2 separate regions of the Homo sapiens genome follow, and region 1 is linked to region 2. The links are contacts of gene promoters, found by promoter capture Hi-C in human tissues and cell types (Jung and others, 2019). All regions are on one chromosome and are shown on one strand. Each heading gives the region's core, a stretch centred on a gene start or on the middle of the fragment in contact. The rest is flanking DNA. Distances are from core to core; before and after follow the strand shown. Region 1 has its middle 110 kb from the start of CNKSR3. Region 2 holds the start of IPCEF1 (interaction protein for cytohesin exchange factors 1).

Evidence for each region. The method cuts DNA at HindIII sites, captures the fragments that hold promoters and counts their contacts. A contact is called where the count stands out against the background at its distance.
Region 1: a contact is called between a fragment that was not itself captured here and the fragment with the promoter of IPCEF1 in region 2, in 1 of the 25 tissues and cell types used here (thymus).

What each region holds. Positions count from the first base shown.
Region 1 is chr6:154,614,726-154,621,205 of GRCh38, forward strand. No RefSeq gene overlaps it. Among named protein-coding and RNA genes, the nearest start is that of CNKSR3, 110 kb to the left of the region's middle. RefSeq lists enhancers at 637-1,143, 3,036-3,205. The HindIII fragment of the contact is 7,014 bases long and covers 1-6,006 here.
Region 2 is chr6:154,354,601-154,361,257 of GRCh38, forward strand. IPCEF1 (interaction protein for cytohesin exchange factors 1) reads right to left here and starts at 2,203. Exons shown (of 12, transcript NM_001130700.2): 1 at 2,072-2,203. It overlaps LOC105378067 (a long non-coding RNA gene), which reads right to left. Exons shown (of 3, transcript XR_007059823.1): 3 at 5,293-6,657. The HindIII fragment of the contact is 7,632 bases long and covers 1,128-6,657 here.

The sequences.
Region 1 (6,480 bases), core at 1,250-3,749, 260 kb after region 2:
AACAGATAGCCTGCCAAAGATATGGTCCAAAACATAAAAATAAAACATGTCAGCTCACTGCCAAAGTGACTTCAAAATAGTCAGGATCTTAAGTAGTTCAAAACCCTAAAGACTGATCTTGTGGTCAAGGGCATCAACCTCACAGTGCCGCTGTTTCAGTCCTCTTCCCCTGACCGAGGGCCACGTTTCCTCTTGACCAGATGTGATATCCTATGACCCTTACCTCTGTGTCCCTACGCATGGAATTTTATTTTTAATCATTTGAAAGCAGAGTAAGCACAAAGCCTGCTCACTGAACCCTGGGTCAGACCATGTCATATATCTACTTTAAAAAAAAAAAAGTACTCTCTTTTATTAAAAAATAGAAAAGGAAGCCCTAAGAATGTTGTATGTTTTCTGTGTTTATATTCACATTGTGAAATGGGTAAAATAATACTAAACCCTTAATGGTGGTAACCTCAGGAGGGTGTGTAGAGATGAAATGATTGTCTTTCTTTACCTCTTAGAACTCTGAATGATACCAATGAGCATGCAGTTGTTCTGGTATTTTATCAAATAAATCAAATCATTACTTTTTAAAAAGAAAAAAAAATTTTCCTTTCAGTTGCTAATAAAACAGATATTGGTTGCTGGGAATTTTTTTTTTATCTTCAACTAGACTCCACTTCCCCCAGAAAGGTACCAAAAGCAGTTTAGGAGAAGATGGACAACTTGATCTCAGGTTTACTAAATTAGCAATAAACTTCAACTTCTCAAAAGTCTATGGTAAGAGTATTCAAGTCCCCTTTGCTTCTTGATTTTTAAACACAGTTATGTGCAGATTCACTTTTCCCAATCAATAAACAACGTCTCTTTATTACCTAAACTGGATAATTCCAGAAGTCAACAGGCAGCCAAATGGCAGTTTCTCATTTCTTTGAGATCACTGCTGATTGCTCCCTCTCCGGCTTCCTTGGAGCCTGTTGTGGACACTGTTGGCGTCTTGCCCAGTTCCTTCACCAGGCAGTGCCTCCACCCCACTGCTGTGGTGAGTGGCGGCTGCTGGTGGCTCACAGCTGCCTCCTTCTCGGAAGAACCGTGCTCAGCTCCTGGGAGGTTGCTGCCTCCAGGAGGTGATGTGCCTCCGGCAAGGCCCTGGCGGAGCTGCAGAGCACAACCCCCCTGCTGGATGGGGGCCACGTATGGGGCGCCCCGCACGTTGCAGAGCCACCCTTGGGCTTCCGCAAAAGCCGCGTCTTTGCTTCTTCTCTTGCTGTTTCCTCACTTCGGTAGAGGCTTCTCTCTCAATAAATCACTTACATGAGATAAGTAAATCACTCTCTTCAGGCCTAAAACAGCTGGGCTTTTGGTTACCCTAATGAGGAGCATTTTCATATAAAGTTATAGTTGATTAAAACTTAAATTCTTTAAAACTTAAAAATTAATATGGAAAAAAAATAGCTCACTATCCATCCCACCTTAGCCTCCAGTTCACGTGTGAGGAAATCTAAAATGTTCTTCAGATTCACAGCAACATCCAAGCTCCAAAGGCAGAGAAATAAGGATAAAATGCAATTATTATGCCTGGCCTACATAGTGGGTATTTAATAAACATTTCACAACTAAAAAAATTTTTGCCAAAATTTACTTGATTGGAAATAATGCCCAATTCAAGAATCAAAATGGCTGATTGTTGAATGTTTAAAAATGTTTTTGTGACTTTTACATAATTTTTTTGGAACCCAGAATACCCACTTAACATGTAGGAGTAACATATAGGTTTACGGAATAGGAAGAAAGGAGCTTGGGCCACAGTCCAGTCTTCAACTAGCCACCGTCAATTCCAACACAACTCCATCTCCATAATCCTGTACTGTGGCCCACAGGAAAGAGTGGAGCCTTACTGGGTACCAAAAGAATACTTTGCCTCTCTGAATGCACCTGGAGGGCAAGATTAACATTTGTATAAAATAATAATGACAGACGGGTGTGGTGGCTCATGCCTGTAATCCCAGCACTTTGGGAGGCCGAAGCGAGCGGATCACCTGAGGTCAGGAGTTCAAGACCAGCCTGGCCAACATGGCAAAACCCCATCTCTACTAAAATTACAAAATTTTAGAATACAAAAAATTACAAAATTTTAAAATACAAAAATTAGCCGGGCGTGGTGGTACATGTCTGTATTCTCAGCTACTCAGGAAGCTGAGGCAGGAGAATCACTTGAACCCAAGAGGCAGAGGTTGCAGTGAGCTGAGATCATGCCACTGCACTCCAGCTTGGGGGACAGAGTGAGACTTTGTCTCGAGAAAAAAAAAAAAGAAAGAAAGAAATAATAATGACAATACTACACAAAAATATATTGACATTTTAATTGACCTTTTGGGAGTCTAGTTGATAGATCAATAGATTAATAAAGTAAAATGAGAAATAAAGGGAAAATATTGGCATGTTGTTCGATTATTCAAATAGAATCTATTTTTTATTCATGGGATAAGTTGGAATTTTCCTTTTGTCAGGAGAATCTATTCTATAGCACAATCTTGATCTAGAATAATGACATACAAATAGACTTTTAGGATAGAAAACCAAATGATATCCTTACCAACTGTGGATTCAAAACCAAAAGGAAAATATATTGCATCACTTTTCTTGAAGAATGCAAGCAAAGGATAGGCATGTAGTTTAATCATCTCTGCAATGTATTAAGAGGTTAATCCTGTTTTAAGTAATCTATGAACTCTAACCATAAAACACACCATATTTAAAAATAAATATCCATGACTAGAGCATCTAAAGAGCATGTCTCCATTTAAAGAGGTCAGTCCCGGAGAACATCCGCTTTTTCCAGTGAGCTTTCCATTGTTTAAAAATGTAGGAGAGCTTCTTTTAGAATTACCTTCACAGACCACAGCATATTCTTTTGAAATTTTTCAGTGGTGAAAAATCCTTACTCTTTGAGGTTGGCCTCGACCTTCAAAAACAGCCAACACCTATTTTCAGACAAGTCTGAGGAAAACGGAATGATAGGGTTGGATAGTTAAGGCAATGACACATGTGAGGTAATTTACAAAAATACTCAAGCATAGAGAAGTTAAAACAAAGATGGCCGCTATATCCTGCCTTTCACATCCTGGCCCAGTTGTCTATCTCTGAGCATCTCTATATTGGTTTTTTTTCAGCTGGACAGTAAACTCTATTGAGTTTTCATTGTATCCCTGAAGTTCAGAGCTCAGAACTAAATCAAATAACATGATAATAATACAACTGTAATCGCTCTTGGCGGTATTAGCTTGAGGTTTGTCTCCTTGTAGCCTATGTGCTTATCAATTACATTGTCATAAATGCATGATAAGAGGATGGGCCCTTGAGCCAGGCTGCTTGGCCTGAAACCCCTGCTCCAATACTTATTATTAAACATGATTACTTAATCTCTCTAGGTTTCCATTTCAGCATCTGTTCAACAGAGATAATAATTGGAACTTTCTCATGTTGTTGCGCAGAGTCAGTAACAATATATTTCAAATATTTAGAACACTGCCTGCTATATAGTCCACACTAAGTAAGTATTAACCATAATTATTTTGTGTGGGTTTTGTGTGTAACAGGCAAAGAATGAGGAACTAGTCTTCAAAAATAAACAAACAACAAAATAAAAACCAGCTTTCATTGATTCAAATGATACACCACCATCCTAACCAAAGTTGCAGGAATATTTTTTTTTTTTTGAGATGGAGTCTCTCTCTGTCACCCAGGCTAGAGTGCAGTGAGGCGATCTCGGCTCACTGCAACCTCTGCCTCCCAGGTTCAAGCGATTCTCCTGCCTCAGCCTCCCGAGTAGCTGGAATTACAGGCGCACACCACCACGCCCAGCTAAATTTTTGTATTTTTAGTAGAGATGGGGTTTCACTATGTTGGTCAGGCTGGTCTCGAACTCCTGACCTTGTGATCTGCTCGCCTCAGCCTCCCAAAGTGCTGGGATTACAGGAGTGAGCCACCGCACCCAGCCAAGTCATAGGATCTTAAGAGGATTGAAAGCCATATAGTGATTCACAGGGCTCTAAGTATATAGGACAAAGACAGCTACTGAGAGGCGTTTTAGAGTTCCATAGCTGTGGATCTCAATGTGATTTTGGAAACCTCCAAAGAGATGAAATTATCGCTGTTAACAGAAATTGTTGGCTGTTATACTGTATTTTATAGAACGTAAGATGCCACCAATTGAAACACACATCCCAGCTTTGGAAATAATAATTTGAAAAAGTGTGTGCCTCCAAATCAATGAAATATGGTCACAGAAGTTTAGATGGCGACATCCAGCTTCTAGCTTTGGTGAATTCTTTCGCCTTCTAGGTGGAGCCTCACTCATGAAAAGGGAAACTTTCCCAGGATTCCATTATAAAGGTAACAACTGAGCTTTGAGTTCAGCACAGCGAGCAGGGGAAAGCCCCAGTGGGAGACCATATTTTATATAGGAGGTGAAGAAATGCAGAAGAATGTGGAAATTCTTGAGTATGCATAAATGTTTCCTAATGCAGGTGTTAAAAAACTCCCCAAGTGAATTCTGAAATTCAGAATCTTTTTCCATCTATGGAAAGAACACATTGTTCCAGTCAAAAGCGAAACAACCAGGCAAAAAAGAACTCCCAGACCTCTCTTTTCCATGCTGCCCTTTGATTTTCCGGGAGCTCCAGTCTTGGACTACAACCACAGTTACTGAAACCTGGACAGGCTGCTCCTCACCTAACGATAGCAGAGCCAAGACTCGCTGCAAACAGCATTAACAAATGCAAACGAATCAGCCCTAAAGGCTCAGATCCCATTTTTAACAATTTGTTTTTATATTTCAACTCAACAAATATTAGTCAAAGACTCTGGACTATGTGTAGGTTATTGTTTAAAAGAAAAATGAACCCAGGTGCAGAGAGTTTTGTGCCAAGGGCTAAAAAAGAGACTCTGAATTAGGATCACCTGGCACTCCATCCTGTGTAGGGGGATGAAGGGAATATGACAGAGGAAGGCAGGGCAGGGAGCCGGGGAGAGAGAAAAAGAGAGAGAGGCAGAGGGAGGTTGACATCTGTAAACATAATTCAATTTTCTTAGTGTCTTGGACTGCTCTAAAAAGAATTTTACACAGAAGTGTAGGAAAGACTGTCTTCTGATAATCCACTGGAATCTATTCACCACAAATTTGAAAGAAACTTCGAAGATTGGCCAAAGGTTCTTTGCACCTCACATGTACTCAACCATCACCACCTGCAGCCTATAGCCAATTGGTAAATTCATAACACACCCCTTCTGTTAAAATGTGACTCTTGGATCCATCTCCTCGGCTAGATTTGGGGGCATTTTGGCATAAAGTTTAATTTTTTGAGCAAGTTCCTGAGTGAAACTACCACTTTTTTGCAGATGAAGAATATAATTCAAGACGTTCATTTTTTTAGTATAAAACCTGGAAGATAGGCCAGGCGCAATGGCTCACGCCTCTAATACCAGCACTTTGGGAGGCTGAGGCAGGTGGATCACCTGAGGTCAGGAGTTCAAGACCAGCCTGACCAACATGGTAAAACCCCATCTCTATTAAAAATACAAAAATTTAGCTGGGCGTGGTGGTGTGCGCCCATAGTCTCAGCTCCTCGGGAGGCTGAGACAGGAGAATAATTGCTTGAACCCAGGAGGCGGATCTTGCAGTGAGCCAAGATCATGCCACTGCACTCCACCCTGGCCAACAGAGCGAGACTCCATCTCAAAAAAATTTAAAAAAAAAGATAAAAAAATAAAATAAAAAAACCTGGAAGATGAGTAGCCATATAATTCATCAGTATTTTTTAAATTAGATTATAAAGTGTATCTTATTTTATCCACTAAAAATAATTTTTTTAGGAAAAAATAATAGTTATATCTCAGTACTTTCATAATTATTCAATAATACTGTTCATACCCTACTTCAAGTAATTCTAAATGGTTTAATGTCTTTCACTTATAATTTGGATCAAATACTACTGGAGTTAGATCATTGAACATCTAAGACTTAGAAATCTTGTGTTTATACAATAATTAAGGAAATAATATTGGCATTTAATACAAGAGCAATTGGCAGGAATTTGTCAAGAAACTGTATCAGAACTTCATTTACCTAACTTAAATTTTCCTTGTTTTTTCATCTATATATTTTTCAAAAGTAATTGTCCAAACTATAAAAATGAAAATGAATACATTTTGTTTAATTATCTATAGCCTCTTTTATAACTAACCCAACAATGTCATTGTTAAAGTTTTTGTATTGTATTCTTCTCGTTGGCAAAATGAGATTTGGTAATATATTCAAAGCCTATCAGCTCTAACTTAGTATATTTGAAGCTCGATGACACCCTGGTAATGAATTTGAAATTGTCTGCCTTCCCTTCCACCACAAACACACACACTTTCTGGTATTTTTCTGAAATGCCAGAGCTCCAGATTTTATGCCATTATGTCTGAGTATCTAAAAGACGGCGATGATAA
Region 2 (6,657 bases), core at 953-3,452:
ACCATCACCTCCCCTACGACCACCACTTCCAACACCACCCCCTTTATCTCCACCTCCACCTCCACCACCATGTATCGCCAACCCTTTCACTTTACTGACCTGGGGATTTTTCTGATCCCCGTTCTACACACCCTTTCTTTACTCCACACCTTCATATTCTCCTCTCCTCCTCCACTCTGATCTTTTCTAACATTCACTTTTTAAAGTGCCTGAGTAACAGAGATAAAGCAATGGCTTTCCTACCACATTCATTTTATGAATTATGCCAGTTATTCATTCATTCAACAAATATTTACTGAGAGCAGGCACTGTTCTGAGCACTTGGGAGCACAAGTAACTCCTCCATTTGCAGGATTCTCTTTAAGGCTAAAAAGCTTATTTTTTAGGATTTTTCTTCACACACACACACACACACACACACACACACACACACACACACACACACCATTTGCCACATTAGACCTACTTGCAAATTGTTAACCTGTACTGCAATTATCAGCTCACACTGCAGAGCCTCCAAGCTGGATGGAAAGCAGAAGTGAGCTGTTCAAAAGGATGCACGAGTCAAAAGGAAAGTCTCAGGCAATAGTGATGAAGTAATTTCTTATCTCTTATTGCCACAGCAAACTACCGCAGGAAAGAACTTCCTATTTCCATACTCTGATGATGTATATTTGCTTAACACAGCTTGCCTGAAATAGTTCATACATGGACCCACTCCAGAAAAGACACTTGATTTATAAAAAGAGGAATGGAAGGAAATTATAAGGTAAATTAAAGAATGAGTTCATCAACACATACACAAACTTACACCCTTTTCTTCCTTGCTTGCATGATGTGAGCAGAAAGAAATGTGTGTTCTTTCCATTTCTGTTTCTTTTCTTTCTTTCTTTCTTTTTTTTTTTTGAGATGAACTCTTGCTCTGTCACCCAGGCTGAAGTGCAGTGGCGCAATCTCAGCTCACTGCAACCTCCGCTTCCCGGGTTCAAGCAATTCTCCTGCCTCAGCTTCCCAGGTAGCTGGGATTACAGGTGCATGCTCCCACGCCCAGTTAATTTTTGTATTTTTAGTAGAGACGGGGTTTCATCATGTTGGCCAGGCTGGTCTCGAACTCCTGACCTCAGATGATCCACCCGCCTTGGGCTCCCAAAGTGCTGGGATTACAAGCGTGAGCCACCGCACCCGGCATTCTATTTTCTATTTTCTTTTCTTTCTTTTTTTTTTTCTTCCTGTAGAGATGAGGTCTCATTATTTTGCCCCCAGGCTGGTCTCAAACTCCTGACCTCAAGTGATCCTCTCGCCGTGGTCACCCAAAGTACTGGGATTACAGGTGTGAGCCATTGTGCCCAGCCCTCGGTTTCAATTTTCTACATAAAATAAATAACTCGATAGAAATTAGACTTTATCAAGGACAGCACTAGGAACACATAGGCCACTCAAGACTAATAGAGCCCACTGCTGTAGTCAAAGATGCTTCAGTGGGTTATAATTCTGACTTCTATAATTAAATACTTTCACATATACCCCAGCAAAGAAAAATCAAGTGCCCCAGACACCCTTACTAAAAGACTCTGAACCAACAACACCTAGCTTTCATTTTTATACCAGAGATATTTTGGCAAGCCTGAGACCTTTATCAAAGTGTAAAATGTCCCCCAGCTGCCTCCATGCAAAGGAAGCTCCCTTGCAAAGAACACACTTTCTCGAAAGAGGGCGGCCCCAGAGTGCTTCCCCAAATGAACTCCTCAGGACCCAAATACATGCTGAATTGTGCTTTTCTAAATCAAACCTGTGGTCTGCAGTCTAAACACCTATCAAGACAACACCCATTTAAGAAACATAAAAGCAGAGTGAGTACACAACTCTCTCCTCTTTCAAAGCTTTCACAGAATTAAAGAATCTTTAGCACCTGGCTTCCCAGATTACAGAGAGCTGAGTGAATATTACATCCCCAAAGTCATATTTCCTACCTCACTACTCTAAGGAGAGTGCTAGGGTATCCATTGCTTTGCCATCTTGATCTGTCAAGCAGTTACCTCTCATACATCAGCCAAGAAGTGACGTTACTTACATGCAATACAAAGAGAGTAAATCCAAGAGCAGTCTTATTCCTGGATTCAGAAGCCTCATAGTACTCTGAGGCCAAGCTTGAGGATTCTACTTAAAGCAGCCTCAGCTCTGGAAACTCAGTCAACCCAGAACTAACATTCAAAGCTGATCAGAGAGTAAAGCTCTTTCGAAAGAAGAGGAAGTATCATCTCCACTTCCTCAATCCTAACGTTCTTCCTTCTCATTGTTATGAAACCCTTCCTTGATGCCCATATCCAGGACACAGTACATGTAAGGCAAGCACACCCCATCTGCCTGAGTTCATTGATCACTAAGCACTGCCCAGTGTATTCATTTGCCGAGCACATTGGTGGAACAGTTCATGGTTCTGCTTTCCTGTTTTGGAGGCAAGGATGTTCATTTACAGGCATGGAGGGTGAGATGATCTGCAGAGTCATTCTCAGCATTTTTGGGTGAAATGCCACTTCAACCTCTTTAGGTTCAATCTTCTTTCAGATTTCCCTCTTTCCTCCTTTCCTAATCGTTCATAATGCTCTAATAAAGAGAGGGTACAGACACATTTGTAAAACGTATTTTAGGATAAAAATAAGTCTTAGCCTGCCATCTTTTGCAGTAGACATAGAAGAGTCTCTAACCACAAAACTTTTCTTTCCCACATTGGAAAAGGAAAATGGCAGGCTGAAAGTCAGAGATATTCCATCTCATTACAAATTCCTGCCCTCCCAATCTCCCTTTCAACACCAGCTTCTTGTTTCTCTATACCTTCTAGGGAAATGAATACAGCTGGGCGTGGTGGCAGATGCCTGTAATCCCAACCACTCAGGAGGCTGAGGCAGGAGAATTGCTTGAACCTGGGAGGCAGAGGTTGCAGTGAGCCGAGATCGCACCACTGAACTCCAGACTAGGAGACAGAGCAAGACTCCAACTCAAAATAAATAAATAAATAAATATGTATGTGTATATATATATATAATATATATATATAATATATATATTATATATATATTATATATATATTATATATAATATATATATTATATATATATTATATATATAATATATATATTATATATATTATATATATATAATATATAAAATATATATATTATATATATAAAATATATATAATATATATAATATATATATAAAATATATATAATATATATAATATATATATAAAATATATATATAAAATATATATATATATAAAATATATATATATAATATATATATAAAATATATATATATAATATATATATAAAATATATATATATAATATATATATAAAATATATATATATATATATATATATATATATAGAATATATAGAATATATAGAAACCTAATCCCCAATGTGATTGTATTTAGAGGTGGACCTTTGGGGAGTGATTAGGTCATGAGGACAGTGCCCTCATGAATGGTATTAATTTTCTTATTAAAGAGAACCTGGAGATCTGCCCACCCCTCCACCATATGAGGACATGGCCAGAAGACAGTCACCTAGGAACGAGGAAGCAGGTCCTCACCAGACAATGAATCTGCTGGCGCCTTGATCTTGGATGTCCAGCCTCCAGAACTGTGAGAAATAAATGTCTTTTGTTTGTAAGCCACCCAGGCTACGGTGTTTTGATATAACAGCCTGAATGACTAAGACAAAGATAAAATGTAAACTAAATCTGTGGAGGAGTGAAAAAATGAAAGAAGATGCTGTACATTTTGAGCAGGAACAAAATGAAGGTTCTCTCAGCGGCTTCTTGTTTGTGTACACTTCTATTTCTGGAAGTGCTGCCTCATCTTCTCCCTATATTGAGTTGTCTTCTAGTTCCCTGCTTTACGTAGAAAAAAAAATGGTACTAGGTGATATTAAAGGAATTTAGTGGTATCAACAGCATGGCCTGGCTTCTCACCAGACATTTAGATGCCATCATCAAAGATATCCTCAAAAGACATGTTATTTACCTTTATGGGGCCAGAATAGAGCCACTTAAATTCTTTGAGCAAAGATGATTTGTAGAATTAGAATAATCCTCAAAACGGCCGGACTGTCAGTTCAAGATGACGGGCTGACCACAGATTTGCTCCCTCCCTCCCCAAAGACTCCGTTAAAATGAGAAAAGTATAAAAAGTTTATAGGGCCGGGCACGGTGGCTCACACCTGTAATCCCAACACTTTGGGAGCCCCAGGCTGGCAGATCATGAGGTCAGGAGATCGAGACCATCCTGGCTAACATGGTGAAACCTGTCTCTACTAAAAATACAAAAAATTAGCCACGCCTGGTGGCACGAGCCTGTAATCCCAGCTTCTCAGAAGGCTGAGGCAGGAGAATCGTTTGAACCTGGGAGGCGGAGGTTGCAGTGACCTGAGATCGCGCCACTGCACTCCAGCCTGGGTGACAGAGCGAGATTCCGTCTCAAAAGAAAAAAAAAGATATAAACCCACAATAACCCAAAAAAGGAGGAAAAGCATCAGAACTTGGGAGAGCACAACAGATTTCTGGCAGCCTGAAAGCCGATGGAGGAGCAATAACAGATGGAGGCAGGCAGGGGAACCACAATATCTCATTAGTTAGGAGAACACGGCGTTGGAGGAAATTGCCCGTGTGCGGTGCTGAATCCCTGAGAGGACCGGAACTCAAGCCAAAAGAAGCTAAGAGAGCTAAATGAGTGATAGGGTGACAGGACTGAAAACAGGAAGAGTAATTCAAAGTCTGTAAGAACTCAGCCCCTCCCATACCCCTCTTTCAAATCTCTCTGTCCGCCCAGCCTCTGCACAGCAAACACACACAATTCCAACCCCGGGCAGCATACCGAGGATTCGTCTCTACACATAGTGAAATCATGCAGAGAATACAGGCATTGTATGTGGATATGAGCACTCCACAGTCAGAACTCCACATTCTGGCAATAAGAGCCTCATCTAGCATGTGCTGGATGATGGATGATGTGCTTTTTTTTTTTTTTTTTTTTTTGAGACAGAGTCTTGCTCTGTCACCCAGGCTGGAGTGCAGTGGCATTAATTATCTCGGCTCACTGCAACCTCCGCCTCCAGGGTTCAAGTGATTCTCCTGCCTCAGCCTCCTGAGTAGCCAGGATTACAGATATGTGCCACCACACCCAGCTATGTTTTGTATTTTTAGTAGAGACAGTGTTTCACCATGCCGGCCAGACTGGTCTCAAACTCCTGACCTCAGGTGATCTGTGCACCTTGGCCTCCCAAAGTGATGGGATTACAGGCATGAGTCACCACGCCTGGCCTAGATATGCTTCTAATCAGTATCCTTAGAGACAGTCCTGAAGATATTGTATCCATTAAAAAGAACAGGATGCTAAGAAAGATAGATAATCTGAAAACAAGAAAGACCCCTTGGATATTGCAAATATAATTGTTAAATAAAGATTTTGATAGGTTGGGTGATAAATTCAAGTGAAATTTTCAGGAAATATTATTTGATGACATAGTCAAAGAAATAACATAAAGGATCCCCCTGAAGTCCAAGAATATTTAGATTAAAAAGTCTCATCGAGTGCCTAGGATGAAGAATTTCAAGTCACTGCAAAATTTCCAAACTCCGGAAATAAAGAGAAAATCTTAAAATCTCCCAAACACAGAAAATAAGTCACTTTCACAGAAACAAGGAATCAAAGGGCTCCAGATTTCACAGAAGTAGCATTAAGGGTTAGAAGGTCAGCGAGCACAGCCTTCAAAGTTCTGAAGGATTTATATTTCACTCTAGAATTTTGTGTTCATTCATCCAGTGTATTAGTCCATTTTCATACTGCCATAAAGAACTGCCAGAGACTGGGTAATTTCTAAAGGAAAGAGGTTTAATTGACTCTTATAAATTAAAGAGGTTTAATTCAGCATGGCTAGGGAGGCCTCAGGAAACTTACAATCACAGTGGAAGGTGAAGGGAAGCAAGGCGCCTTCTTCACAAGGTGGCAGGAAAGAGAAGTGCTGAGTAATGGGGTAAGAGCCCCTTATAAAACCATCAGATCTCATGAGAACTCACTCTCACAAGAACAGCATGGGGGAAACCACCCCCATGATTCAATTTCCTCTACCTGGTGTCTCCCTTGACACATGGAGATTATGGGGATTACAATTCAAGACGAGGTTTGGGTGGGGACACAAAGCCTAGCCATAGCATTCAGCAAATATTTTTGAGCACTGTGTCTAGGCAGTGAGGACGCAGCAGTGAACCAAATAAAGTCCTGCCCTCAGGGAACTTCTTTTCTCATGCTCAGATCAGGATGGTGTACTCTCTACACAAACAAAGAAAGTAAAATATAATGTGTTAGGTAGAAGTAAGTGCTAAGGAGGAAAAATAAATCAGCAGAGGAAATATATAGAGTCTAAGGAGAGGCTAAAAATTAGATGGGGAGGCCAGCAAAGGACTCACAAAGGTGACCTCTGAGTGACAGCCTGGAGGAAGTGAAGGCGTGAGCTGTGTAGACAGCTAAGGGAAGAGAAATCCGCAGACAGAGCCCCAAATGCAAACATCCTGCCACCCCCAGAGCCTTTTGGTGCCGCAGGAACAGCATGGGGGCAGGTGTGGCTGGAACAGAGCAGAGCGGGTCAGAGATGGA